3 separate regions of the Homo sapiens genome follow, and regions 1 and 2 are each linked to region 3. Evidence: promoter capture Hi-C in 16 types of primary human blood cells and fetal thymus (Javierre and others, 2016). All regions are on one chromosome and are shown on one strand. The core of a region is centred on a gene start or on the middle of the fragment in contact, and the rest is flanking DNA. Distances in the headings are between cores, read along the strand shown.

Region 1 (3,805 bases), core at 765-3,264, 260 kb after region 3:
CCTTAATCTGCATTCTTTTATTGAAGAATACAGTATTTGCAACTAACTCATTTTTTCCTGTTTTAATTACAGATATACTCTGTATATTCTCTCTGATCTATTATTGTAGACACTGCACATTCAAATTGACATTTAAGACCAAACGTCTCTTATGTTATCTTTAACATTACTTTGAATAATAATTACAATGATGTTTCTTCCTATGATTCCACATAACATTTAGAAGAATGTCAACTTTTTATAACTGAATGTATTTCTAGTGCTTTACTTATATTTGGCTTTTCGACTCTTACAAAACCATCAGTCTGCATTTATATAACTTTTATAAATAATATTATAATTTGGGTCAAGTTAAGATAATAAAACTTCCTTTCAGCGTTGAAAAAAAAAATCTTTCAAAATATGTTATCCTTTCTGCTTTAAGTCCTGGCTGTAAGGATTGAAAAATTAGAACCCTAAATATATTGAGTAAGTTTGACAAATATGTGGAAATTATCTTGCAGCTAATATTGCTGATCCTAAAACACCAATAAATGATGCTTTCTCAGTATTTCTCATATTGATTTCTGAGACTTATATTTTTGAAACCTTAATCTAGAGCTGTGGCAAGCCATGCAAATGGGAGCTTACTCTGGTATTGGTTTTCCTTCATCTTATTTGAAGCAGCAAGAGGTATATTCCTCAGCACTTAGAAAGTAGCTGTAGCAGCTGTGCGCTGTGGCTCACACCTGTAATCCCAGCACTTTGGGAGGCCGAGGTGGGCGGATCACCTGAGGTCAGGAGTTCGAGACCAGCCTGGCCAACATGGTGAAACCCGATCTCTACTAAAAATACAAAAATTAGCCAGGCTTGGTGGCACGCTGAGATCCTGCCACTGCACTCTAGCCTGGGCTACAGAGTGAGACTCCATCTCAAGAAAAAAAAGAAAAGAAAAGAAAGAAAGTAGCTACAGGCCAGGCACAGTGGCTCATGCCTGTAATCCCAACACTTGGGGAGGCCAAGGTGGGAGGATCACTTGAGCCCAGGAGTTCAAGACCAGCCTGGGCAACATGGTCGAACTCCATCTCTATAAAATACCAAAAAATTAGCTGGGCATGGTGGCACGTGCCTGTAGTCCCACCTATTTGGAAGGCTGAGGTGGGAGGATTGCTTGAGCCCAGGAGGTGGAGGTTGCATTGAGCTGAGATTGTACCACTGCACTACAGCCTGGATGACAGAGCAAGACCCTGTCTCAAAAAAAAAAAAAAAAAAAGTAGCTATAAAACAGTTCTTCCTTGATGACTGAGATTTTGAACCTAGGCTTTGAAGCATTTGAGCCACCAGTCTTTGTCCATCCAAACAAAACCTGATTGCCTTCAATTACCTAACCCACTCAAGTGGTGTCTTCTGTTGTTTGGGAAATAGTCTGCTGTCTTCTGTAGCATGGGAAATAGTTTCCAAGACTAGATTTATACACACATACATACACTTGCATATATATACACCCATAGCTGTAGGTAATGTATATTTAAGGGCTGTTATGTTTTTAGAAAATATATATCTATTGTATTTTAACTTTTTAGTCTCTAAGTGTTCTGTCATGTAGAGATGTCAGGTTGTGATTATCTCAGTAGGAAGCTTATAGACATTGGAATTGATCATAATTCATTTTTTGACGATAGTTTTACCTTTCTTAAGCTTTTCATTGAAATTTGCATTTCTTACCTGTTAACTGACTACCCAGTAGATCTCCATAAAAGTAGAAGAATCAACTGTATGGTCAACCTTTATGTTACTGTACTCATTGGTGTTATGCATAGTTTTATAATATTGTTTTTAATTTTTCTTCTTTAAATAGACTCTGGAACTTCTTTACAGAATTACTAATGCACAGAATATAACAGTTATTGTCCAGAAAATGCTTGAATATTTACATCAGAGCAAAGAAGAGTATGTCATCGTCAATTTGGTCGGCAAAATAGCAGAGCTGGCTGAGAAATATCCTTTTATTTCGACCATGAGTCTTAAAATAGTTAGTTATGCAGTGACTTTAAGATGATTGGTATAGATATGGTCACTTGCAAGTCGAGTTCAGAGACCTAGCAATACTTTTTATTCCTGATTTTCAAGCCTCTCTTGTCAGAAAAAGGGATTTGTGTAGACCTCTTAGGAGATGGCTTTTTTTTTTTTTTTTTTGCTGGTTTCTTTTATTCATGTAGTCCAGTATTTTGAGCAGGAAGATAGAGGAACCTTTATCCTCTTTTTCCTCTTTCAGTCCTGCCTCGTCTCTACTTCTATCTTGATTTCTTTTCTGAGTAAAAGTTCTTGCTTTTTGGGGAAAGTGGAGGGTGTGTGGGAGTGGTCAGGATGCTAAAGCTTATCCTTTATTGTTTTAAGCTGGAAATTGTCACAGTTAAGTAGTTGGGAACTCTATTAACATGTTACTCTTCTTCATGTTTGTTTCTTAAAAGTCAGAAGAACTTTACAGGTCATAAGCATATTCCATTCATTAAAAAATGTTACTGTTTAGGCCGGGCACAGTGGCTCATGCCTGTAATCCCAGCACTTTGGGAGGCTGAGGCGGGTGGATCACCTGAGGTCGGGAGTTTGAGACCAGCCTGACCAACATGGAGAAACCCTGTCTCTACTAAAAATACAAAATTAGCCGGGCATGGTGGCGCATGCCTGTAATCCCAGCTACTAGGGAGGCTGAGGCAGAGGAATCGCTTGAAACTGGGAGGCGGAGGTTGCAGTGAGCTGAGATTGCACCATTGCACTCCAGCCTGGGCAACAAGAGCGAAACTCCGTCTCAAAAAAAAAAAAAAAAGTTACTGTTTAATTATAAAAAAGAGTGAGTGAATGCTGTTAATGAAATTATATTGGAAATTGCTTAAGTGTAGTTTTGTCCTAGTCAGTGCTGTAGCTCTGGCCAGCAGAATGATAGAACTTTAGAACTGATGAGGAACAGATTAGAAAAGAGACTAAACACCTGTAATCACAGCACTTTGGGAGGCAGAGGTGGGAGGATTGCCTGAGCTCAGGAGTTCACGACCAGCCTGGGCAACACAGTGAAACCCTGTCTCTACTAAAACACAAAAAAATTTAGCCGGGCATGGTGGTGTGCACCTGTAGTCCCAGATACTCGGGAGGCTGAGGCAGGAGAATTGCTTGAACCCAGGAGGCGGAGGTCACAGTGAACCGAGATCGCACCACTGCCCTCCAGGCTTGGCGACAGAGCAAGATTCTGCCTCAAAAAAAAAAAAAAAAGGAAAAAAAGAAAAGATACTAAACAATTTGTTCAAGTAGACATACAACAATATTTAGCTTCTTTGAAGTGAATTCTTTGAAGAATATAATTTTCCATTATTTGCATCTAGTTAGCTGGTTTGTTTCTTTCAGTTATTTCACATTTATTTATTGGATGACTGTTTTGTGCAAGTATGGTGCCAAAGTGACATAAACTCAGTTTATTAAGTTTATTAAATAAGCTTCTACTGAGTACCTATTTTACATAAAACTGGGGTACAGAACAATTTATGGCAGAGGTTAAAGGTAAAACTGCCATACTAGGATGAATTGGGGTTATTTTTTAAAAGATTGCTACAGAAGGGTAATTTTAATAAGTAGCATTTGGAAGTGTACTTGTTCTTAACACTGTGGACACATATGCTCCTGATAATGCATGGTTTATTCAGACAATGAATGCTGTGTTTTCAGTAGGAGGAGATGTAATGCATCCTGATATTCCCAATAACTTTCTGAGACTACTAGCGGAAGGTTGGTACACTATTATATTCTGTAAAGTAAACATTTTAAAGTTTAATGT
Region 2 (3,821 bases), core at 811-3,310, 290 kb after region 3:
TCAATTATTTGGGATAAATACCCACCCGGAAGTGAGATTGTTGGAGCATATAGTAGTTGTATTTTTATTTATTTAGAGACAGAATCTTGCTCTGTCGCCTAGGCTGGAGTGCAGTGGTACGATCTCAGCTCACTGCAACCTCTGCCTCCTGGGTTCAAGTGATTCTCCTGCCTCAGCCTCCTGGGTAGCTGGGACTACAAGCATGAGTCACCACACCTGGCTAATTGTTGTATTTTTAGTAGAGACAGGGTTTTGCCATGTTGGCCAGGCTGGTCTCAAACTCCTGACTTCAAGTGATCCACCTGTCTTGGCTTCCCAAAGTGCTGGGATTACAGGTATGAGCCACTGTGCCCGGCCATTTTTTTTTTTTTTTTTTGAGACAGTGTCTCATTCTGTCACCTAGGCTGGAGTGCAGTAGAACGATCATAGTTCACTGTAGCCTTGAACTCCTGGGCTCAAGTGATCCTACTGCCTCAGCTTCCTGAGTATCTAGGATTCCAGGTGCATGCCATCATGCCTGGTTCATTTTTAATTTTTTGTAGAGACAGAGTCTCCCTAATGTTGCCCAGACTGGTCTCAAACTCTTGAGCTCAAGTGATCCTCCTACCTTGACGTTGCAAAGCACTGGGATTATAGGCATGAGCCACTGTGTACTGCCTGTATTTTTATTTTTTTGAGGAACCTCCATACTGCTTTCCACAGTGGTTGCACCATTTTGCATTCCCATCAACAATGGGTAAGGGTTCTGACTTCTTCACATCCTTCCTGACACGTTATGTTTTCTTTTCTTTGATAATCACCATCCTGACTGGTACAAGGTGATGCCTTATTATGGTTTCAGTTTGTATTTTCTTGCTAATAGTAACCTTGAGCATTTTTTCATATACCTGTTGGCCATGTGTATGTCTTCTTTAGAGAAATGTTTATTTAAGTTATTGGCCTATTTGTGATCAGGTTATTAGTTAAAAAAAAAAAACTATTGAGTCATAGGATTAACATATTTTGGAGGTTAACCCTTACCAGAAATGTGGTTTGCAAATATTTTCTCCTATTCCATAGGTTGCCTTTTCACTCTGTTGAGTGTTTTCTTTGCTATGCAGAAGCTTTTTAATTTGATGTATTGCCACTTGTTTATTTTTGTTATTATTACCTGTATTTTTGGTGTCATATCCATGAAATTATTGTAAAGACCAATGTCATAAAGCAGCTTTTACCAGCTGGGCGCGGTGGCTCACACCTGTAATCCCAGTACTTTAGGAGGCTGAGGTGGGTGGACCACCTGAGGTCGGGAGTTCGAGACCAGCCAGACCAACATGGAGATACCTCATCTCTACTGAAAATACAAAATTAGCCAGGCGTGGTGGTGCATGCTTGTAATGCCAGCTACTTGAGAGGCTGAGGCAGGAGAATCACTTGAACCCGGGAGGTGGAGGTTGCAGTGAGCTGAGATTGTACCATTGCACTCCAGCCTGAGCAACAAGAGCAAAACTTCATCTCTTTCTATGAGTTTTACAGTTTTGGGTCTTACAGTTAAGTCCTTAGTTCATTTTGAGTTGATTTTTATGTATGGTATAAGATAAAGCTTCCATTTTATTCTTTTGCATGTGAATATTTGGTTTTCCCAATGTTGTTTGTTGAGAAGACTGTCCTTTCTCTGTTGTGTATTCTTGGTGTCCTTGTTCAATATTAGTTGACTATACATGCTTGGATTTATTTCTGGGCTCTCTGTTCTGTCTCTATGTCTGTCTTTATGCCAGTACTATGCTGTTTTGATTATTGTAGATTTGTAATATATTTTGAAATCAGTAAGTGTGATGCCTTCAGCTTTGCTCTTTTTTCTCAAGATTAATTTGGGTATTCATGGTCTTTTGTGGTTCTTCATTGGTGAATTCTACCAAACACTTAATGAATTAATATTGGGGCTGGGCACAGTGGCTCATGCCTGTAGTCCTAGCAATTTGGGAGGCCATGGTGGGAGGATCACTTGAAGCCAGGAGTTTGATACCAGCCTAGACAATATAGCTTGACCCCATCTCTACAAAAGGGACAGAGAGAGAGAGAGAGAGAGAGAGAAAGAGAGAGAGAGTTCTTTTCAACCTCTTCCAAAAATTTAAAGAGGAGAGAACATTTCTAAACTTATTTTATGAGACCAGCCTTACCCTGATAGCAAAGCCAGACAGAGCCACCACAAAAAAAAGAAAACTACAGGCCAATATCCCTGATGAATATAGGCAAAATACTAGGAAACTGAACTCAATAAAAGGATCATACACCATGATCAAGTGGGATTTATCCTAGGGATCCAAGGATGGTTCAACATCTGAAAATAAATTAATGTGATATCATGTTAACAGAATAAAGGATAAAAACCACACAGTTCTCAATAAAAGCAGAAAAAGTGTTTGACAAAATTGAATACCCTTTCATGATTAAAAAGAAACTCAATAAAACTAAGAATAGAAGGCAATATCTCAATATAATAAAGACCATATATGATAAACCCAGAGCTAACATCATAGCATGGTATGATGAAAAACCAAAAGCTTTTCCTCTGAGATCAGGAGCAAAGCAAGGATGCCCACTTGTCTCTTTTGTAGTCAACACAGTACTGGAAGTATTAGCCAGAGCAGTTAAGAAAAAGAAGAGAGGTATTCAGATTGGAAAGGAAAATTGTTCCTCTTTGCAGATAATATGGTTTTATTTATAGAAAACCCTAAATTAGACTCCATTAAAAAACCGTTAGAAGTAATAAGCGAATTCTGGAAAGTTGTAGGATGCAAAGTCAACATGCAAAAATTATTTGCATTTTTGTACACTAACAACAAACCATGTGACAAGGTTATTAGGAAGACAGCCCAATTTATGATAGCACCAAAAGGAACAAAATACCTAATAATAAACTGAAGCAAGTGAGAAAGTTGTGTTTAATGAAAACCACTGAACGTTAATGAAAGAAATCAAACAAGGCACAAATAAATGGAAATACATCCTGTGTTCATGGATTGGAAAGTACATGTATTCTGTGCAATCCCTTTCTTTTAAGGCTTTTTATATGTTATTTAGCACAGTGATAACTAATGTACTATAAAATTTAAACTCTCTTTCAAAGTGTAATCAGTTTCCTCTCATTAACTTTTTATATATTAATAGAATATATTGGGGGAAAAAGTAAACTTTTGAATTATAATTGCCTAACCTGTGGTTATACTGCATATAAATGCCTTATGACATCCAGGGCCTAGAGTGAAAAGCTCCTGGGTTTCCACAGTGGGAGGTATGATTCCGTTGTCATACTTCCTTATTTTCAGGTATCTGGGGGCCACCAGTTGCCATTACTGAAGTCAAGGGTTGGATAGGGAAGGGGAGATATAATAGGGAGACTATTTCCTGGCACTGCCTATTTTGTTTCTTAAAATAAGCTAAATAGCTGACACAAATACAAGAGCCCTGGAATTCCCCAAGCTTATGCAGTCCTTTGCCAAGTACATTTTTTCCCATAGAACCACATTATAAATGGGATTAAACGCTCAAACTAGATTCTCCCTCTCTCCTCCCAAATCTGTGTGCTTCAAAAGTCCTTTAAAGCAAAACTGAAATTTCAGGAGACTGTTATAGAAAAGGAAATTGGTTATGAGACAAGATATAGCAAGTATTTAATAAATACTTGTGGAATAAATTATAAAATTATATATCTTAGAAATGGGGTTGGCTATAAGACAAAATAAAGAGTAGGGGGAAATAGGTATTTTATGCATAAAGAATTAATTCTTGAATCTTTTAATTATCAATCTGTTATGGTTTTTTTTTTTTTTTTTTTTAGA
Region 3 (3,959 bases), core at 676-3,175:
TAACAAATCAACTGACTAAAACATGAGACAATCAGGGAAATATGCTGAATATTTAATGATACTAAGCAATTATTAATTTTTAGGCATGATAATAATATTGTGGTTATGTTAAAAAGTCCTTGTCTTTTTAGACATAAACACAATAAAGTATCCATAAATGACATTTGTCTGGGATTTGCTTTAAAATTATCCCATTGAGGAATGATAGAAGAAATAAAATTCACATGGTTGAAGCTGTTGAAACTGGCCAATGGGTATATGGTAGTTCATTCTACAATGTATCTTTGCAAGTTTGAAATCTCCCATGTTGGCCTGGCGCGGTGGCTCACGCCTGTAATCCCAGGACTTTGGGGGGCTGAGGCGGGCGGATCACCTGAGGTCAGGAATTAAGAGACGAGCCTGCCAAACATGGTGAAACCCCGTCTCTACTAAAAATGCAAAAATTAGCCGGGCATGGTGGCTACAGTCCCAGCTACTCGGGAGCCTGAGGCAGGAGAATCGCCTGAATCCCGGAGGCGGATGTTGCAGTGAGCGGAGATCGCGCCACTTCACTCCAGCCTGGGCGACAGAGTGAGACCCTGTCTCAAAACAAACAAACAAAAAAGAATAAGGTGGAAAATAGTGAAAGACACATTATTTATTCAAAGTATTACTACATTTGTGTTATAAGTAAAACTCTTATTTTAGTTTTGTATGGCACTTGAATTAGCGTCCAGTGAAAAGCAAACTTGCCAGACTCCAGCAGAGGGAGAGTTGTTTGCATAAAGCCTATCAAATTCAAGTACTGACCAAAAATACCTACTTTGCTCTTCATGTCCCTGATGTAAATGACTTTCTTAAGAAATCTTCAAAATTGGTTCCTGATATCCAAAAATAAAAAGCTCTATCGGAAGCTGCAATGCACCGCCTCCCTCTCTCCATTCCGCACCTTTCGGTTTAAAACACGATCAACTGTTCTCTGGGGCAAGGGATGCGGTAGTTCGACTTAAATCCTGACTGACAGTACATTGTCTTGGTCCCCACAGAAGCCTCCCCCCACCCACCAAAATCCTTAATTCTTGCTAAAGAAAAAAGATCTACCATCAATATTGTCAAATCCCTCCCTTTTGGTTCCAAAAAGGAAATGTACCTGTAGAGTATCCGCTGCACAGCAAACAAGGCACTGCTCCAAACCCGTGTCCTCTACCCCCTTTTTGCACCCTTCTAGCCCTCCCTCCCTTTTTTCCATGTAAAACTTGAGCAGAGCATTTGGTTCCCTTATCTGCCAGCAACTGGCGCCAGGAGGACCGTGCTCCCAGGAGATGCGGAGCTTGTAGGCTGAGCCCTGCGTCGGGCGCGCTGAGGCCGCTCAGCTGAGCCCAGCCAGGTAGTCCCGGGCTCGCGCCTCTGCCGCCTGGAGAGGCCCTCGCTGGGAGCCGAGTCTCGGCTCAGGGGATTCCCGCGAAGAGGTGTCGCCTCTAACTTGCTACCTGCTCCCGCCCCTCACCCCAGAACGAACTGCACACCCGTCCCGAGAGGACAAATCCGGAAGCCTCAAGGCAATTCGAGGGTCCTTCGCCGCATGGAACGCGGCTCCCCACACACTTGCCTGCCAAGTCTCTCCTTTACCGCCCGCAACCCCAGAACCATTCCCCGCCCGGGCCTGCGTGGGTCCAGTACCATTCTCCTCACGGGGCGGACTCCGGAAGGGCAGCAACTCCACCTCCTCCTCCTCCGCGGCCTGTAGCCATCTATCGGGAAGCGTCTCCGGAGGCGGCAGCAGAGGCCGCCGGACAAGGAACGCCCAGGGAAACCTTCTCAGAACTAACTCAGCTCCGGCGCTAGCAGCAGAAGCCGAGTCTTTCATAATTGTGCGACCAACTCCTCCGGGTGACTGGCCACAGGGACGCGCCCGCGCCCGCCTCCGCCGGCGACGGGGCTGGGGACGGACCACGTGAGCGGCGCGGCGCGGCGCGTGCGTCGCCGCCCGCGGGTCGGGTCACGTGAAGGGCGCGCGCTCCCTCGATTCCAGGCCGCCTCCCTGCGCGCCGCGCGCACGCGCTGGGCAGGTTCGCGCCGCCACGCCGACCGCCTCTGGGTTCCCAGAAAGTGGTGGGGTGTTCACGCCGTATCTCCGTTGGGTACCTAGGCGGGACTTAGACAAACTTCAGCCTCAGCTACGAGAGTGGAACTTGGGGAATCGGAGGTTGAGGGTTAAGGTTCAAGGCTTGCGGATCCAGTCTGGAGTTGCTGTGTGGGCTCATTCCGCTAACTAGGCCTGGCCTGTGCCGACTCGCTCCAGCAAACTCGAGTGTCGCAACACACTCTGTGTGCTTCAGAGCGAGTAGAGGCTTTAAATGTTACTCTCTCCTCGTCCAAAATGCAGAATCATCTTTTTACCCCAATCATGTTCTTTCTCTAGCCTCTCCTGTTGCTGCCGGTAAATATTCTTCTTTGTTTAACTATGGGACTGTCTTTTTCCCTCCAGAGATACTCACCCACATACACGCATACACCACACCTTCTGCACCAAAAACTGGGTTGTTCCCTTGATGTAATATGTACCTATCCACCTTTCCATTTATTTTGCTGTCACACATGCCAAGGTTTGGCTATTAGCAATGGTTTACTAAATGTTATTCCTTATCTACTGGGAAGACCACAATCAGTTTAATTTTCTTAAAACTGCTTTAACATCTTTCTGCTCCTGAAGTCTTCGAGAGTTCCTCAATCTGACCCTCAGGGATCTGACTGTCTTATCTCTTTTTTAAAAACGACTTTATTTTAAAATAATTGACATGACAAACTGCACGTATTTAAATGTCCAATTTGATAAGTTTTGACATACCTGTGCACCCATGAAATCACCATAATCAAATGAACGTATTCACCTCTAAGTTTCCTCCCCCCCCTTCATAATCCCTTCATCTCGTCCCTCTCCATCACGTCCCTTATCAACTACAGATCTACTTTCAGTACAGATAAGTTTGCACATGCTAAAGTTTTATATACGGGAATCATACAGCACGCACCTTTTTTTTCCGTCTAACTTCTTTCATTCAGCATAATTATTGCCTCTCAAACATTATGACCCACAATTCACTGAAGTAGGATCTTCTCTCAGAAAAAAAACTAATCCACCCACTGGTTCCCCCAGCTTGTGAACAATCTTCAGGTATTGTGTATTTCTTCCCCATCTGGCAGGTCCAGCAGAACCAAGACTTAAAAATGTTTTAATATATGTGTCACACTAAATTGTCAGCCTTGGGGAAGGCATCTTGACTAATTTATGCATGCAGTCAATAAATGTTTATCTTCTGGATTTCAGTTGGGCCTACACATTTCCTGCCTGTAGGGAGTTTATAATCTAGAAGGTAGAGGCAGACAAACTGGAAAATCAAAATAAAATGAGATTAGAGTGCTTTGTTTCGTTAGAACTTTGTAACTCTGGTCTTTTTGTACTCACGAATGCTTCGCTCCTTAGTTGGATGGTGTAGAAATGAAACAAGATGAGCTCCTTGGCACTTGCCAGAACTCTTTGGTAAATTGGAAAATTTAGAGTTAGAAATGGGGAACAGGATTGGGTGGGCGCGGTGGCTCATGCTTGTAATCCCAGCACTTTGGGAGGCCGAGGCGGGTGGATCACCTGAGGTCAGGAGTTCTAGACCAGCCTGGCCAACACGGTGAAACCCCGTCTCTACTAAAAATACAAAAATTAGCTGGGCATGGTGGCAGGCGCCTGTAATCACAGCTACTCGGGGGGCCGAGGCAGAAGAATCGCTTGAACCCAGGAGGCAGAGGTTGCAGTGAGCCGAGATCGCGCCATCTCACTCCAGCCTGGGGGACAAGAGCAGGACTTCGTCTCAAAAAAAAAAAAAAAAAAAGAAAAAGAAAAGAAATGGGGAACAGGATTTATCCTTAATTGAACTAATCAAAATAAATTCCTTAATTTTCAAGTGATCAACCAGCCTTGAAATTCA

Evidence for each region. The method cuts DNA at HindIII sites, captures the fragments that hold promoters and counts their contacts. A CHiCAGO score of 5 or more calls a contact.
Region 1: a fragment that was not itself captured here is called in contact with the fragment with the promoter of TRPM7 in region 3 in 1 of 17 cell types (M1 macrophages); the score reaches 7.2 in M1 macrophages.
Region 2: a fragment that was not itself captured here is called in contact with the fragment with the promoter of TRPM7 in region 3 in 1 of 17 cell types (M1 macrophages); the score reaches 5.5 in M1 macrophages.

Annotation. Positions count from the first base shown.
Region 1 is chr15:50,946,183-50,949,987 of GRCh38, forward strand. AP4E1 (adaptor related protein complex 4 subunit epsilon 1) reads left to right here. Exons shown (of 21, transcript NM_007347.5): 11 at 1,838-1,977; 12 at 3,644-3,756. It also overlaps the pseudogene DCAF13P3. Among named protein-coding and RNA genes, the nearest start is that of AP4E1, 39 kb to the left of the region's middle. The HindIII fragment of the contact is 678 bases long and covers 1,676-2,353 here.
Region 2 is chr15:50,973,909-50,977,729 of GRCh38, forward strand. All of the region lies in intron 15 of AP4E1 (adaptor related protein complex 4 subunit epsilon 1), which reads left to right. Among named protein-coding and RNA genes, the nearest start is that of MIR4713HG, 62 kb to the right of the region's middle. The HindIII fragment of the contact is 961 bases long and covers 1,581-2,541 here.
Region 3 is chr15:50,684,872-50,688,830 of GRCh38, forward strand. TRPM7 (transient receptor potential cation channel subfamily M member 7) reads right to left here and starts at 1,926. Exons shown (of 39, transcript NM_017672.6): 1 at 1,660-1,926. The coding sequence starts at 1,662. It overlaps LOC128092252, which reads right to left and starts at 1,846. Exons shown (of 4, transcript NM_001414947.1): 1 at 1,660-1,846. The coding sequence starts at 1,846. RefSeq lists enhancers at 1,014-1,878, 1,408-1,827, 2,138-2,317 and a silencer at 1,878-2,047. The HindIII fragment of the contact is 16,005 bases long and covers 1-3,959 here.